2 separate regions of the Homo sapiens genome follow, and region 2 is linked to region 1. Evidence: promoter capture Hi-C in human tissues and cell types (Jung and others, 2019). All regions are on one chromosome and are shown on one strand. Each heading gives the region's core, a stretch centred on a gene start or on the middle of the fragment in contact. The rest is flanking DNA. Distances are from core to core; before and after follow the strand shown. Region 1 holds the start of LSM4 (LSM4 homolog, U6 small nuclear RNA and mRNA degradation associated). Region 2 holds the start of CRTC1 (CREB regulated transcription coactivator 1).

Evidence for each region. Contacts are between HindIII fragments. The study calls those that stand out against the background at their distance.
Region 2: a contact is called between the fragment with the promoter of CRTC1 here and the fragment with the promoter of LSM4 in region 1, in 1 of the 25 tissues and cell types used here (dorsolateral prefrontal cortex).

What each region holds. Positions count from the first base shown.
Region 1 is chr19:18,320,955-18,324,896 of GRCh38, reverse strand. It overlaps LSM4 (LSM4 homolog, U6 small nuclear RNA and mRNA degradation associated), which reads left to right and starts at 1,821. Exons shown (of 5, transcript NM_012321.5): 1 at 1,821-1,879. The coding sequence starts at 1,877. LOC105372300 (a long non-coding RNA gene) reads right to left here. Exons shown (of 2, transcript XR_007067157.1): 2 at 2,900-3,163. RefSeq lists enhancers at 680-1,282, 1,481-1,700 and a silencer at 1,761-1,940. The HindIII fragment of the contact is 25,574 bases long and covers 1-3,942 here.
Region 2 is chr19:18,682,133-18,685,719 of GRCh38, reverse strand. CRTC1 (CREB regulated transcription coactivator 1) reads right to left here and starts at 2,040. Exons shown (of 14, transcript NM_015321.3): 1 at 1,892-2,040. The coding sequence starts at 2,017. RefSeq lists a silencer at 2,051-2,140 and an enhancer at 2,351-2,650. The HindIII fragment of the contact is 17,160 bases long and covers 1-3,587 here.

The sequences.
Region 1 (3,942 bases), core at 572-3,071:
GTTAAAAAAAAAAAATATATATATATATATATATACACACACACATGCAAATATATATACACATACACATGCATGTATTTCTCTTTTTGCACACAAAAGAGGACATATTGTAAAAACTGTTCTCTACCTTGGTTTTTTTCACTTAAGATATCCAGACACCATTCAATGTCAGTATATGAAGATTGTCTTCATTCCTTTTTATAGCTGTATTACTCTATTATTTGGTCGCATTGGGTTTTTTTCAGTCTTTTGATATTATGAATAATGTCAATAAATAGCATCAGTCATTTAAAAACGAGGCTGGGCGTGGTGACTCATGCCTGTAATCCCAGCACTTTGGGAGGCCAAGGTGGAAGGATCACCTGAGGTCAGGAGTTCGAGGCCACCTCCTGGCCAACATGGCAAAACCCCGTCTCTGCTAAAAATACAAAAATTAGCTGGGCATTGTGGCATGTGCCTGTAATCCTAGCCACTCGGGTGGCTGAGGCAGAAGAATCCCTTGAACCCAGGAGGGAGGGGTTGCAGTGAGCTGAGATCGCACCACTGCACTGCAGCCTGGGTGATAGAATGAGACTCCATCTCAAAAAAAAAAGAACAGGGTCTTCGCAGATGTAATTAAGGATCTTGAGATGACATTATCCTGAAATTTATGGTGGACTTAATAAGAGAAAGGAGTGTCCTTTACAAGAAAAAGGAGCGGCCGGGCTCGGTGGCTCACGCCTGTAATCCCAGCACTTTGGGAGGCAGAGGAGGGAGGATTGCTTGACCCCAGGAGTTCGAGACCAGCCTGGACAACATAGGGAGACCCTGTCTCTACTACAAAAAAAAAAAAGAAAAAAAAAAGGAGAGATACATTTGAGACTCAGAGACACACAGAGAAGGCCAAGTGACGACAAAGGCAGAACGCGGAAGGCTGCATCTACAAGCCAAGAACTCCAAGGATTCCCAGCAGCCACCAGAACCCAGGAGAGAGGCATAGGACACACAGATTGTCCTCAGAGCCTCCAGAGGGAGCCAACTGTGCTGACAACCTCACTTCATTATTCTGATCTCTTGAATTGTGAGAAAATCACGTTCTGTTGTTTTAAACCTCGCAGTGTGTGGGCATTTGTTACAGCAGGCCCCAGAAAACTAATAGCATTCGCCTATTTACTTTGTTTACTGTCTGTCTCCCTGAGGGCCACGAATTTTGTGTTTTGTTCATTCTGTGAGCAGAAACAGGCACAGAGTAGGTAATAAGTACTTAATATGTGCCAGACGCTGTTTTAAGTGCTTTTACATGGTTTCATTCATTTCATCCTTACAGTAAGCAACGTTTTGGAGCAGACACTACTATTTACAGGGAGCAAACTGAGGCCCCGAGGGTCGTGGTCAGGATTCCAACCTATTAAATGATGTTCCCTGGATAATTACAGAATCAGAAAACTAGGAGTCGGAAGGGCAACATCAGGCACGGCCCAATCACCACGAAGCCTCGATTTCTCTCTCTCTACTGCAAACGAAAGGCATTAACTGGCTTTGCCCACAGCGTGGAGCCCAGGAGACCGACGAAGGTTTCACCTGCGCACGCATTTCCTCACAATGCACCCCGCGCCGGCGCGCGTTGCTCCGCCTCCTTTTGCATTACAAGCCGCGGCACTTTACGGCTCTCGTCCTCGTTCCTCCGGCGGGAACACGGCCCGCCCCGCCCTTTCGCCCAGCGGGCCCCGCCCTACTCCGCGTGGATTGGTTGACCGCCCTTCGAGCCCGGTGCTGACTGGCTTGCGTCTCTGCCACTTTCTTTCAGCTTAGTGGCGCGCGGCGCGGCGACGACCGCCGGGAGCGTGTGCAGCGGCGGCGGCGGAAGTGGCCGGCGAGCCCGGTCCCCGCCGGCACCATGGTGAGGGCAGGGCAACTGCGGGGTCTCACCGGGAGGCGGGAACAGCAGTCGTTGGGATCCCTGCGGGCGGGCGCTGTGGGCTTGGTTGGCGCGGGGCGAACGTAAGGTCCGAGCCTCGAGTCCCGCCCCCCGGCACGAGGCTGGGAAACTGAGGCCGGAGACTGCAGGTGGCTCTATCACGTTCGTGTCTGGGATTTAGGGTTGCACGGACTTGTATCCACAGTACAGTGGCCTCGCCTTAGTTAGTTTTCCCAGTTTGCAGGTGGGGAAACTGAAGTAAAAAAAAAAAAGGTGGGGATCCGCCAAATGCAGCAGAGAGTTTTTGGGCAGGGAAGGGGTCCCTTACGCTTCGGGCCCAGTCTGACCTCCCTGATTGAAAACTAGAGTGCTGGGAAGTAGGGGGCCAGTCTGAGTTGTGAAACTTAGTTTTAGGAATTTCAGAGCTTGCAAGATGCTAGCAGCACAGCCTCCTAGGCCTCTTGGTTTCTGGCTGAAAAGCAGGCCTGGTGCTGGGGTGTGGTGTTTCTCCTTGGGTCACATAGCATGTCATTCCAGCGGAAGGGGGCGTTTTGAGCTAGGGGTGGACAAAGTACATCCTCCCAATACAAAGAAGGAAAAATTGCGGCCCAGGTCTCTGCAGGGCCCATTGTTTATGATTCTGGAAGTTCTGGATCTGGGCTAGAAAGTGCCCGTGTCCCCCACTGTGCAGATCGGAAAAGGAATTCAGAGCTGGGAGTTTCCTGGCCCATCAGCTTCTGGTCCTTCTTTTTTCAATGAGAGAAACCAAGGCCCTTGTTGGGGATGTGACTTCCAGACTCTGTGAGACAGTGGGAGATTCAGTAACCAGGAGGGTCCCCCAGGGGTGGCTGCATCAGAACTGTGGATTAGTGAGAACTCTCCCTAAATCCGGCTGGTCAGTGTGTAACCACCCAATGGGTTCACCTTGCCTGTCTTCCTAGACAGATTTATCAAGACAGGGGAATTGCAGTGGAGAAAGAGTATTTCACACAGAGCCAGCTATGCAGGAGACCAGAGTTTTATTATTGCTCAAATCAGTCTCCGCTGAGCATTAGGGGATCCGAGTTTTGAAAGATAATTTGGCGGGTAGGGGCTCAGGAAGTGGGGAGTGCTGATTGGTTGGAGCTTCCTGAGGTCGATGGAGTCATCGACGGGAGTGTTGAAGTGAGGTTTTCTTGCTGTCTTCTGTTCCTGGGTGGGATCGCAGGACTGGTTGAGCCAGATTACTGGTCTGGGTAGTGTCAGCTGATCCGTCAAGTACGGGGTCTGCAAAATATCTCAAGCACTGATCTTAGATTTTATAATAGTGATGTTATCCCAAGGAGCAATTTGGGGAGTTTCAGACTCTTGCAGCCAGAGGCTGAAGTTACCTAAATGGTAATTTCTAATCTTGTAGCTTATTTGTTAGTCCTACAAAGGCAGACTGGTCCCCAGGCAAGAAGAGGGTCTTTTCGGGAAAGGGCTATTACCAATTTTGTTCCAGAGTCAAACTATAAACTAAATCCCTTCCCAAGGTTAGTTTGGCCTATACCTAGGAATAAGCAAAGATGGCGTAAAGGTTAGAAGCACAATGGAGTCGGTTAGGTCTGATCTCTTTTCACTGTCATAATTTCCCGCTACAATTTTTGCAAAGGCGATTTCAAGTGCAAGGATTCAGAGAGCCTGTCCCTCTCTGCGGTGTACTTAGAGGGCAGAGTTGGCATGTAAGACTGGGCAGAGCTGGAAGGATCCATCCCTGTGTTAAGTTTTGTGGGAGCAGGATCTTCGTTTTTCTTCCGACTAGATTCCCAGTATGTAGAACGGTGCGTGGGCAAAGTGTGAACTCATTCATTCAGCCCCTTCCCACCTTCTGAACATCCAGAGTCCTGGCTGTCCAGCTGTTTCCTGGAGGAGTAGCCGAGAATGGACAAGCCATCACAGGATACACACTTCCAGTTCCCTGTCGTCAGGGCAGGGCCAGAAGGAGTGGCCTAGGTTAGCAGCGGGGATGGGCAGTCCTGGACAGCTTCCTGAATTAGGAGGCACTGGGTTTAGGTCCTCGTGGA
Region 2 (3,587 bases), core at 791-3,290, 360 kb before region 1:
GTGGGGGACACTCACGTGGAAGGATGCTCAAGTTGCACACTTTCTTCTTATTTTCTTTTTTTGAAATGGAGTTTCACTCTTGTCACCCAGGCTGGAGTACAGTAACATGATCTCGGCTCACTGCAACCTCCACCTCCCAGGTTCAAGTGATTCTCCCACCTCAACCTCCCCAGTAGCTGGGATTACAGGTAGCTACCACCACGTCCGGCTAATTTTTATATTTTTAGTACAGACAGGGTTTCACCACGTTGGCCAGGCTGGTCTCGAACTCCTAACCTCAGGTGATCCACTGCCTCAGCCTTCCAAAGTGCTGGGATTACAGGCATGAGCCACCACACCTGGCCATTTTCTTATTTTTTTTTCATTCATTCATTCACCAGCCATCTCTTTCTCTACATCCTGAGCAAGAATGTAGCTGCTTGGAGCTGGGAGGACAGATGTGGCACACTCACCGAGCATGCCTAAAGCAGTACCTGGGTGACAGTGAGCTCCCAATCATTACCAACACAGAAATGAAGACACAAATCCTAGTCTATAAGGTCACAATCTCTCAGAGAAACAAACAACTAGTTACAAAGTAACACAGACTGAAAGTGCTACCTAAGGAATCAGAGACTGAGGTTAAGTCTACCTGAGCCAGTCACATCAGTGGCTGAATCTGGAAACCAGGGATACGAGCATCTGCAAAGCCCACCCAAACCCTCCCCAAGGCCCCAGGATGCAGGAGAGAGGTCTCACCACACTGCAAGAACAAAGTGGAGATTCAGCATCACCTTTGCAGAGTGTGCTCACCACCCTGCCCCAAGAGGAAGGTCTTGCTAGAATGCCTGACAAGAAACTGAGGCCTGAGGAACTCGGGTGCCTTGCCGTGCTCAGACACCAGCCCCAAGCCCCTGCTCCTGGCCCACAGCAACTTCCCAGGTGAGATTTGCAGGGTATCTGCTCTGCCAGACAGGAGCCTGGCAGAACCTGGCCTGCCCCTGCACACCAAATGCGCCCAGCCACCTGAGGCAGACCTGGCCCTCCACCCTGGTCCTGAGAGGGCAGGGGCTGTGGTCAGCATCCCCTGTTCCACTGGGAGGAACATCACCTGGCCCCCACCATATGGGCTACATGGAGAAGGGGCAGCTGTCTCCACTCCAAGTTCCAGGACTGAGCACAATCTGCCTTCTTGGCCCCCCTCTGGACCCCCTGGGGGACAGGATCTGACCATTCCCTCAGCTGTCCAAGAGGGAGAGATCCCTGTCCCACCTCAGCTCTGCAAGTGGGGACATCCGTTCCTCCCCCAACACCCAGGGAGTAAAGGCACAGGTAACCATGACGTAGAGACACCGGTCCCCCTCAGGTAGCAAGAATGGGAGGGCATCTGTCCCTCCCAGGTAGCAAGGATGCGGGGGCACTTGCACCCTCACCCCCAGCTACCAATGGTGCTTGCAAGCAGCACCCAGCTCATACACCTGTGTCATCCTGCCCCCCCAGGTAGCAATGATGCGGGGGCACCTGTCCCTTCCAGGTAGTAATAATGTGGGGCACCTGTCCCCCTCGGGTAACAATGATGTAGGGACACCTGTCCCCTGTCAGGTAACGACGAGGTACTAGCACCTGTTCCCTCCTAGTAGTAATGATATAGAGGCCCCTGTCTCCTCCGGGGAGCAGTGATGCAGGGCACCTGTACCCCATCAGGTATGGATTTTGTGGGGTCACCTGTCCCGCCCACGACGCCCGGGGCGTGGGGACACCTGTCCCCCTCGGGCCGTGCCAAGCCCCGCCCCCGCCGCGCGCGCCCCGCCCCCGCCGCGCCCCCCCCCACCCCGCCCCGTGCACGCGCCGGACACGCGCCCCCTCCCTCCCTCCGCCGGCCCTGAAGGGTCGGCGCGGGCAGCCCCCTTACCCGCGCGGCCCGCGTCAGGCTCAGGTCCTTCATGACCTCCTCGAAGGCCGCCGTCTCCTCCGCCTGCTTCTGATTGTGCAGCGCGATCTTCTCGCTGAATTTCCGCGGATTGTTCGAAGTCGCCATCTTCTCGCCGCCACCTCCTCCTCCTCCTCCTCCTCCTCCACCTCCTCGCCCCCCCACTCGCCCGTGCCACCGCGCAAGCGCCGGCTGGGCCCACGGGCGGCGAGCAGTGCGCAGGCGCGCCGGCGGTCGTGAGCGCGGCGCAGGCGCACAGGAGCGGCGCGCGGCGCGGGGGCGAAGGCGCATGCGCGCGCCCAGGCGCGCGCTCGGGGCCCGCGGGAAGGGCGGTGGAGCGCGAGTGGAAATTTCAACGCCGACGCAGTGATCCGCCTCCTGGCCCGCTGGACAGCGGCCTCTGGGCTGTTGGACAAGGACCGCGGATCGGCTGGGGCACTGGAGCCCCCAAGAGGGAGACGGCCTGACCCAGATCCTCCCAATTCACAAGGGTGGGGCCAGGCACCCCCCCCCGCAAGGATTGGTGGCACCCCAAGTTGAACCTGGGTTTGGACTAAGAGCTCTGAAAACAGACTAGGGCGTTGGTCACTCATGCATTCATTCATTCAAGGAATATTTACTGAGCACCTACTATGTGCCAGGCAAACTGGAGTACAGGCGTGAACAAGCAGAGGTGATCCCTGCCCTTATGGAGTGTACAGTCAGAGAGGGGGCAGACATAGCACACAAATAACCAAGAACTTTTCAGATGGAGGTAAATGTGATGCGGTAAATAAGACCAGTGGCCAGCCACAGAACATTAGGGAGGGAGGCTCCTGCAGCCACCACAGACAGGGAGGCGGAAAGTTATCTTAGCTAAGACCTGAACCCTGCAATCGGCTCTCTCAGTCCATAAACCTAGCTGTTGCCCTTAACGACTTTCTTTTTTTTTTTTTTTTTTCCCTTGAGACCGAGTTTTGCCCTTGTCGCCCAGACTGGAATGCAGTGGTGCGATCTCGGCTCACTGCAACCTCCTCCTCCCAGGTTCAAGCCATTCTCCTGCCTCAGCCTCTCCAGTAGCTAGGATTACAGGCAGGCGCCACCACGCCCAGCTAATTTTTTTATTTTCAGTAGAGACTAAAGACCATGTTGGCCAGGCTGGTCTTGAACTCCTGACAGCAGGTGATCCACCCGCCTCGCCCTCCCTAAGTGCTGGGATTACAGGCGTGAGCCACCATGTCCAGCCGACGACTACTTTTTCCCATTCCCTTGCAATGGGCATATTGCTATTCTCTGGATACCTGAGCCCAAAGAACTGGAGTTACAGAGCTTCAGCCTTCCCTCTGCATACTTCTCCAGTCCAGTCTTGTTCAAGGATCTCTATTTTGCAACAAGGTGCTAACAGAAGGGTCCAGAAATCCCATCAAGACTCAGCAGTGAAGGAAGGAGCAGAGACTCCCCCGATGGCAGAGTGGTAAGCCAGGGAAGCAGGAGGGACTCTAACCCTCCCTCCCTCAAGAGAGGGACCCCCAACCACCAATATTGAAAGTTTATATTCAGGAGGCTGCAGGGATTTCAGAGTATGGGCTGGGTGGAAGCTAGGAAGGTCAGCTGGGGGAATTGATGATGGCTCTAATGGCACAACAAGCACACATTTTATTGGACTGAGGATGGCTGGAGGGGATGCTGACATCTTCCA